Linked DNA regions of Homo sapiens: region 1 is linked to region 2. Evidence: promoter capture Hi-C in 16 types of primary human blood cells and fetal thymus (Javierre and others, 2016). All regions are on one chromosome and are shown on one strand. The core of a region is centred on a gene start or on the middle of the fragment in contact, and the rest is flanking DNA. Distances in the headings are between cores, read along the strand shown.

Region 1 (4,836 bases), core at 2,337-4,836, 830 kb before region 2:
CTTTTACTCCATAATGGCAGCACTGAATAGTTGCCACAGAGAATAAATAGACTGCAAAGACTAAAATATTTACTATCTAGCCAGGCATGGTGGCTCACACTTGCAATCCCAGAACTTTGGGAGGCTGAGGCAGGAGGATTGCTTAAGCCCAGGAGGTCAAGGCTGCAATGAACTATGACTGCACCACTGCACTCCAACCTGGGCAACAGAGCAAGACCCTGTCTCAAAATATAGATCAATAAGATAGATAGATGATAGATAGATAGATAGATAGATAGATAGCTATAGATGGATAGATAGATAGACAGATATGTACTATCTGGCCCTTAGAAAAAGTTCGTTGATCCCTACATACTTTAGAGTTTATAGTATATATCTTTAACTTATCATGGTCTACCATCAAGTGATATTATAACACTTCACATATAGTAGAAGAACCTTAAAACAGTATATTTTTATTTTTCCCTTCCTGGCCTTTATGTTATTGTTGTTAAACATTTTACTTGTACATATGGTATAAACCCTACAAAACAGTTGTTATTTTTGCTTTACATAAATTTTTTTTTTTTTGAGATGGAGCCTTGCTGTGTCGCTCAGGCTGGGGTGCAGTGGCGCAGTCTTGGCTCACTGTAACCTACACCTCCTGGGTTCAAGCAATTCTCCTGATTCAGCCTCCTGAATAGCTGGGATTACAGGCACCTGCCACCATGCCTGGCTAATTTGGTGAGGAGGCCTCCCAAAGTGCTGGATTACAGGCTACCACACCCGGCCAGTAATCATTACTTTTTAAATGTTTAAAATGTTATATTTAAATTATTCAAGGCTGGGTTTGGTGGCTCATGCCTGTAATCCCAGCACTTTGAGAAGCCGGGGCGGGCAGATCATGAGGTCAGGAGATCGAGACCATCCTGGCTAACACGGTGAAACCCCGTCTCTACTAAAAATACAAAAAATTAGCCGGGCGCGGTGGCGGGCGCCTGTAGTCCCAGCTACTCGGGAGGCTGAGGCAGGAGAATGGCGTGAACCCGGGAGGCAGAGCTTGCAGTGAGCCGAGATAGCGCCATTGCACTCCAGCCTGGGCGCAAGAACGAGACTCCGTCTAAAAAAAAAAAAAAAAAAAAAAATTGTTCAATTTATACTCATAATTTTATATTTTCTATTTACCCACATATTTACTATTTCCAGAGCTTCATTCCTTTATGTGATTCAGATTTCCTACTGGTATCATTTTCTTTGGCCTGAAGGGCTTCCCTTAACATTTCTTGTAGCTCCCATTTGCTGATGATTCTTTCAATATTTATATAGTTTTAAAAGTTTTTATTCTGCTTTTGCTTTTGAAGATATTTTTACTGAGTACAGGATTCTAGGGTGACAGGTTTTTTTTTTCCTTTTATTGCCTTAAAGGTGTTGTTTTCAGTATCAATCTGCTGTCATTCTCGTATTTGTTTCTTCATATGTGACATGTCTTTTTTCTCTGCCCAATTTTAACATTTTCTTCTTATCACTTTTTAAGCAATTTGATTATGGTTGGCCTACGGTGTCATTTTCTTCATGTTTCTTGTATTTGATGTTAAGTGACTTTCTTGAATCTGTGAGTCAATAGTTTTTTTAATCAAATTTGGAAAAATTTCAACCATTTTTTCTTGAACTATTTTTTTCTATTTCTTCTCTCCTCATATTTCTTTTTTTGAGAGCCTGATTACATATATATTAGGCTCCTCAAAGTTTCCACACAGCTCACTAATCCTTTTTCTTGTCCTTTTTCTGTTTTATTTTGTATAGTTTTATTTCTAGGTCTTCAAGTTTACTAATCTTTTTTTCCTCTAATGTCTAATTTGCTATTCATCTCATCTAGTGTATTTTTAATCTCAGACATTTAGTTTTCACATCTGGTAGTTCGATTTGGATCTTGTCATTATATCTTCCATATCTACTTAATATGTTCAGTCTTTTCTCTGGCTTCTTGAACATATGAAATACAGTTAGTGCAGCAGTTATAATGTTCTTCTCCACTAATTCTATCATCTGTATCATTTCTGAGTTGGTTTTGATCATTTATTTTCTCCCCACTTTGAAGTATATTTTTCCTTCTTCCTCCTATTAATTTTTTATCAATGCCAGGTATTTTGAATTTTACCTCTTAGGTGCTATTTTTGTAGTCCCATAAATATTCTTGTGCTTTGTTCTGAGATGCAGTTAAATTATTTGGAGACAGTTTGATCTTTTCAGGTCCTGCTTTAAAGCTTTGTTAGCTGGAACCAGAGCAGTATTTAGTCTAGGGGTAATTTTGCCCCATTTCTGAGGCGAAACCCTCCTGCATACTCTATGTTCCATGAATTATGAGGTTTTCCCGCTGTGACTCATGAAAACAGGAGCTATTCCCGGCCCTGTGGAAGCCTCAGGGATTGCTCACTTGAATTCTGCCAGGCGGTTCCTTCTCCAGCCCTGGGTAGTTTTCTCATGCCATGTGTTGGTCAATACCCAGGAACTTACTCAGGGGACCCCGTTGCAGAGCTCCATAGCTCTCCATCTGGGTAGCTCTCTCTTCTCTGGTACTCTGCTCTGTGAACTTAGCTGTCTTGGTCTTTCTGGACTCCCAGATCTATTTCCTCAACTCAGGAAGACCACGGGGCTCCATCTGGATCCCTTCTTCCTGTGCTGTGGTCTTGAGATTTTCTCCTGGCAGAAAGCTGGGGACCATCTTATTGCCAACCTCATTTACTTTGCTTCTCTCAGGGATCCCTGTCCTTTGTTGCCTGATGTCCAGTATCTTGATTGCTTTATATATCTTGCCCATTTTTAACTTTTTTTTTCCAGCTGGGAGGGCAAATCTAGTCCTGTTTTGGTAAGAAATAGGAGTTCAGTCATCCAGAGTGTTTTTCAAAAATTCTACTTTTTAAATTGTTTCATCAAGAGGGCTGCTCTGACACATGCATTTCTGTTATAGCCAGAAGCCTTGGATCTCCTTTCCAGTCAGGCAGAAACCTCTCCTTTCCCCAGGAGAATGTCCTTCCTTTAACCTTTTTTAAATAACTCTCTTTTTACTGCCTCCTCTGCACACTCTCTTAGCTGTTCTATAGGCTTAGGCTTTTAGAAACAAAAGCCAGGAAGTCTTGCAGCTGCTTCTGCCTTTTGATTTGCTGTATAGCTCTCTTAAAGCAAACAAACCAAAAACATAGCCATTCATCTACTTAAATGGGGAGGGGAGGAGAAGAATACATTTACTGTATATTGGTATCCCCAAATATTTTCTACTTAAACACGTATTCAGCTCCTTTTACTTGCTTCATCCTCCACCCAGGCAGATTAGGCTTCAGTGTCCCTCTCCCCATCGTGTTTATTGAGCACTTACTAGAGGCCAGCTCAGGAAGAGGAAGCACAGCTCAGAGCTCAAGAGCCTGGACTCATTAGGCAAATCATGTTCACACCCTACCTGTTCCGCTTAAGTGCTGGGTGATTCGGATGAGTAACTTAATCCCTCTAAGCCTCAGTTTCCTCAACTGTGAAGCTGGTTCATGATTGTACCCCTTGAGGGGTCCCTGTTGTCTTCAGGCTTCCTGCTCTGAAAAGGAGTATTGTTTTTTAAAAAAATTCAGAGATGAAGAAATGAGCCTTACTGATAGTTTCCATACAAACCACCCTCTGTCATGGCTAACACATACTTTCTTCTTTCCTTCTCTTGACTGTTTTTTTTCCCCCATTTCTGCGCGTATTTCCTCTCTGAAGGTTAGGATTCTGATGTTAAAATAATTTGGCTTACTGTTGTGAACAGCCTACAGAGTCAGGATGCACCCCCCCACCCAAAATTTGGTTTGGATGTCAAGACTTACGGTGCCACACACACGCTCATGAAGAGTGTAGGAAAAGGCTTATCACCCACATAGTGAGGCCTTCTGAGGACAGCAGCACAGCCTTCCTAACCTGATCCAATAATGGCTTGAGAGAGCAGGGAAAGGAGCCTGGCTTGGGGGTTTTCTTATGGTTGGAAAGCGAGGCTGGACTGAGGGCAGGGGTCTGCGTGGTTTGAACTTCCAGCTGGTGCCACAGGAGGGAGCTCTGGGCTTTCTCATCCGCTTGCCCAGTGGTAGGGCAGAAGGGAATGAGGGAGTGGTGAAGCTGAAGAGCTATCAGCCATCAAACATCAAAAAACTGGAGTCAGAGTCCATTACACTTACAGGTTAGAGTCTATAATCAACCTGCTATGCAGACAGATGCTGCCAAGTTCTAGCAGTTGTGGAAGTCTCAGCAGGAGGGGAGTTTATACATCAGACATGCATGTATACATCGCAGCCTAGACAAAGGAACTTTTAACTTCAGTTTCTATAGATGATCCCTTTCTGCTTTTTAACCCCATGTCTGCTCAAAACAGAAACGAAAACTTACACCTGTCTTGCACAGTGCCCTGAAAAGTGAGAGCCAGCCCCAGGCTGGGATTTCCCTAACCTCTTTGGATTTTAACGGCCTAATGCTGGTGTCTGAATCTAGGCCAAGGAGCAGTGAGGACGCTTCCTCTGTCCTGACCGCGCCTCGTCCAGGCTGCTCCCAGAATAGTTTTGCTGTCTCCTTCCTGCCTGGCAAGAATGTCTTTACTATCATCTCCTTCCTTTTCTCCGGGACAGCCTGTTTAAGGTACTTTATGTGACCACATCTCACTAATTTAAGAGCTGGAGGGGGGAAGTCCGATAAATTGCCGAGAGGGAAAGAAAGTGGGGAATTTTTTTTTTAATCCGGTTTCGTGTCTGTTTCCTGTCAAAAGGCAAGTTTCTCTTCTCTACCATTTAAAATAAAACTTTAATATACACCTTTGTGTTTTCCACATTTGTCAATCATTGTTTT
Region 2 (4,362 bases), core at 1,863-4,362:
AGCCGCTCGCGGTTGGGGCGATGCAGACCCCGCCCCTTTCTCGGGTGTCCGGCGCTCATTGGTGGGGGAGGCAGTCGCCGGCCGGTGACTGCCCGAGGAAAGGTTGCCTGGGACACGCATCCCTGTGTGAACGCATGACGTCCCACCCTGGCGCCAGGCTGTCTGGGGCTGAGTCTTAGATCAACACAGCTGTGGGACCGGGACCCACAGCTGGGCAAAGGAGCGGATTCCTCAACAAAAAATAGGATTGTGAGAAAAGTTCTGAAACAAAAACAGCGCAGACAAAAGCCTTAATGACATCCTTTCATAAAAATAAAAAATGCAAGAGGGGGGAAAAAGCTGGTAAAAGGAGCAGAACTGGGAACAGAAAGTTCAGAGGCATTTGGAATAAGAGGCTGAGGCCCCACCACTGCTAAACAAGTTGCAGAAGGCCTGAGCTAGCCTGTCCAGTCTGCTGTGGGGAAAAAGAAGTCTCTTGGGTTTAAACACTATTCAGTGTTCCTAACCATAACCTGCTTCTTTCAGAATTAGAATCTTAGGCTAGAGAGGACCATTAAAGGGCACTTGCTTCCTCCCAACCTACCCACTATCTTTTTTTTTTTTTTTTTTTTAAAGAGAAAATGAAGCCCAGGAAGGGAGGAAATTCGTCCAAGGGCACACTGCAAATTATTGGCATGCACAGAACAGAATTTTGCTTGCTAATTCCACAGCATCCTTCTGCCTTATGTCACACAGCCCATGGGCATTTCAGCCTGGAAGCATCCTGGGAAATAATAAATGCGAAGGTGCTTTGCAAACCTAAATCACTATACAAGCCTGAGGCATCAGCTGCAGTAGTAGAGGAAGGAAAAGAAGGGAGGAGAATCTGGGTAGACTGAGCACCTTCCACACAACTGGCCCATGCTGGGTCCCCCAGGCAGTAAGAAGACTAAGATCAGATGGAGTGAACACATCAAGTGCTTTGCAGAGAAGAGGCATTCAATAATTATCGAATGAATGAATGAGTAGACCCAATTAGTTCCATTTTATAGATGGGAAAATAGAAGCACCCAGGATAACTCAGCCAAAGTCTACACAATTAGTTTAAACAAAAAAAGAAGAAGAAGAAGAAGAATGGGCATTTGCACAGAAATCTGCCTGGCCCGTGATTTTTCTAGAACCCTCTGGACTTGACCGTTTTGCCACAGAAGTCTGCAAGATAGGAAAAGAAGGATCTTCTCTTCGGTTATTCAGGAGTTCCTACAGCCATTATTTTGCCTTTCCTGACCAAATAGCTGGCACTTGACGGCTGTAGCATGTAAAGACTGACTTGCCCACTCACAGGTTTTCTTCCTCTTTTCTTACTGAAGAGCCTGTCCTTGAAAAAAACATTCCAGGAAGAAATCTTTCTTGGGCCACAGAGCCCTGTGGTTTGATGGAAAAGAACGAGGCTTCAAGACTGGCTCTGCTATTACTTGTAGTGTGACATTGGGCATGTCTTAAATGCCTTCCTTGGGCCCCTCAGCATCTTTCACCTACATATCCAAATTTCACACAACCTTGGACTTCTACAATTGGAAAGGATTTTAAATAATCACTTAGTACCATCGTCTATTTTACTCACAAGGCAATTAAAGCCAGAGTACCTGGGCTTGTTCAAGATTACATGACAAATTATTGTCAGGGCTAGCATGATGAACCCAGGGCTCTCAATTCCCAGTCAGTGTCCTTTTCAACCGTTTTGCGACTCTCTTTGGCTCTGAGCCCCCCTTGTCCTGTTAATCAGTGCCACACATTATCGAACTCTTGTTTCCTGTGTTAATCTTGTCTCCCCAAATTGTGAGATTCTTGAAAGCAGGAGCCACTGTTTTATGCGGAGGGACTCCATAAATATTCACCAATGATTCATTAGGAAAGCAACTATTGGGGGAATCCCACTTGGTCATTTCCAAAATGGAAAGCAGCATCTTGGAAGTGCAGGTCCCCAAATGTCTAGGGAGGTGACAAGAAGGCAAGCAAAGAATCAAAGAATACTGAGCACAGTGTCCTGTTGCAATACAGGACTTAGTTTGCCGGCCCTCTGGTTCCTTTCCTGGTCTTTCAGATGGAGCTGGAGCTACTTCAGCAGGGCTAAGAATAATCAAGTCCAGGTGGCCTGCCCTTCCATAGCAGAAAGGGACAGACAATAGAGCAATGAAATTACCACTGTTTTCTACACAGAGGTGTGTGGAAAGTGAAGAGAGGGGAAGTTAAGAAATTTGCTGACCCAATTGGGTGGGGGGGGGCTCTTAAAAAGGTTTATGTAGAAATTGTCCCATCTGTGCCTCCATATTTAAAACCTTGTCCAAAATTCTAATTGAACTCACAAAGCACAACTGTGCATATATTTAGTTCGTTATGGAGTTTATGGGGCAGAGGGTCCAGGCTCCTTTTTTCCCCATGCAAAAAGCATGGGCTCAAGCTTTCTTCTTTTCCCCTGTTGCTCAAATAAATAGTGTTCTTTGCTCAAACCCCCTTTCCCTCCTCCTTCTGCAATCTCAGCGCCTAGCGCAAATCTGTTTTCTTCATTGTAACCTCAGCTTCACCGCAATTAATTTTTTTTCCCTCTGGTCACAAGATAATTCCTGACGCCAGTGAGTCTGGAGGTCAGACGAACAGCAAATTGGGGAACAAGGCGGCACTAATTCCTTACAAGTTTCCCTTGAAAAATCTTTCGCTTAAAAAAAACGGGGGGTGGGGGGAGCTTCTTTGCTGTTCAGGGATTTATGACCTCGGAGGAGCTGTGGCTCGAACCAGTGTTGGGCTAAAGGCGGACTGGCAGGGGGCAGGGAAGCTCAAAGATCTGGGGTGCTGCCAGGAAAAAGCAAATTCTGGAAGTTAATGGTTTTGAGTGATTTTTAAATCCTTGCTGGCGGAGAGGCCCGCCTCTCCCCGGTATCAGCGCTTCCTCATTCTTTGAATCCGCGGCTCCGCGGTCTTCGGCGTCAGACCAGCCGGAGGAAGCCTGTTTGCAATTTAAGCGGGCTGTGAACGCCCAGGGCCGGCGGGGGCAGGGCCGAGGCGGGCCATTTTGAATAAAGAGGCGTGCCTTCCAGGCAGGCTCTATAAGTGACCGCCGCGGCGAGCGTGCGCGCGTTGCAGGTCACTGTAGCGGGACTTCTTTTGGTTTTCTTTCTCTTTGGGGCACCTCTGGACTCACTCCCCAGCATGAAGGCGCTGAGCCCGGTGCGCGGCTGCTACGAGGCGGTGTGCTGCCTGTCGGAACGCAGTCTGGCCATCGCCCGGGGCCGAGGGAAGGGCCCGGCAGCTGAGGAGCCGCTGAGCTTGCTGGACGACATGAACCACTGCTACTCCCGCCTGCGGGAACTGGTACCCGGAGTCCCGAGAGGCACTCAGCTTAGCCAGGTGGAAATCCTACAGCGCGTCATCGACTACATTCTCGACCTGCAGGTAGTCCTGGCCGAGCCAGCCCCTGGACCCCCTGATGGCCCCCACCTTCCCATCCAGGTAAGCCTCGAAGTCGGGACAGGGCTGAACACCCAGGCAAGGATGCTGCGGGACCCTCGGAGCTCCCGATTGCCTCGCGTAACTCTTCCCTCTTTTCCTCTAATCAGACAGCCGAGCTCACTCCGGAACTTGTCATCTCCAACGACAAAAGGAGCTTTTGCCACTGACTCGGCCGTGTCCTGACACCTCCAGGTGAGTATCTCCTCTCTTGGAGAGGGAGGTTTAAACGGCAAGTCCTGGAGTTGGCAGACGTTTTGAAAAATTGCCACTCACTCGGTTTAGGGAAACTGAGGCCAGAGAGGGACAAGTGACTTGCCCATGGTTGCATCAAATGAATGGCAGAGTCAGTTTCCATGTGATGTGCATTTAAGCCTTAAATGCGCCTGGGCCCTGCCCTCCCGCAGTGGCCGAGGGTCTGGCAAAGTAGACATGGGTCCGACTAAATACAAGTCTTTCTGTTCCATGTTGTATAGGGAGCTGTCTTCGGCAGCCCCCTCCCAGCTAGTGTCAATTCCAAGTAGGAGGGGTAGCGCAAGCTCCGCCTGTGGTCTTTGGCGCCAACTGGGTGGGGGCAGCGTGGGGCGCGGAGTTATCAGCTGGAGGTACAGACCAAGTTTCCTCCCTGGCGCCGGCCAGTCTGCGGACGGCCCCCGCCTCGGCACGCTCGGCGGAAACTGACTGCTCCTTGGTCTTCTTTCCTCCCCCGCCCAGAACGCAGGTGCTGGCGCCCGTTCTGCCTGGGACCCCGGGAACCTCTCCTGCCGGAAGCCGGACGGCAGGGATGGGCCCCAACTTCGCCCTGCCCACTTGACTTCACCAAATCCCTTCCTGGAGACTAAACCTGGTGCTCAGGAGCGAAGGACTGTGAACTTGTGG

The links. The method cuts DNA at HindIII sites, captures the fragments that hold promoters and counts their contacts. A CHiCAGO score of 5 or more calls a contact.
Region 1: a fragment that was not itself captured here is called in contact with the fragment with the promoter of ID3 in region 2 in 1 of 17 cell types (neutrophils); the score reaches 5.1 in neutrophils.

The regions. Positions count from the first base shown.
Region 1 is chr1:24,391,717-24,396,552 of GRCh38, reverse strand. The region is part of intron 2 of STPG1 (sperm tail PG-rich repeat containing 1); the gene reads left to right. Among named protein-coding and RNA genes, the nearest start is that of STPG1, 20 kb to the left of the region's middle. RefSeq lists an enhancer at 4,246-4,495. The HindIII fragment of the contact is 2,681 bases long and covers 2,246-4,836 here.
Region 2 is chr1:23,558,251-23,562,612 of GRCh38, reverse strand. ID3 (inhibitor of DNA binding 3) reads left to right here and starts at 3,112. Exons shown (of 3, transcript NM_002167.5): 1 at 3,112-3,486; 2 at 3,594-3,678; 3 at 4,198-4,362. The coding sequence starts at 3,187. The coding sequence ends at 3,653. All of the region lies in intron 2 of LOC124903876 (a long non-coding RNA gene), which reads right to left. RefSeq lists silencers at 2,799-3,045, 2,913-3,172 and an enhancer at 4,113-4,242. The HindIII fragment of the contact is 2,494 bases long and covers 2,443-4,362 here.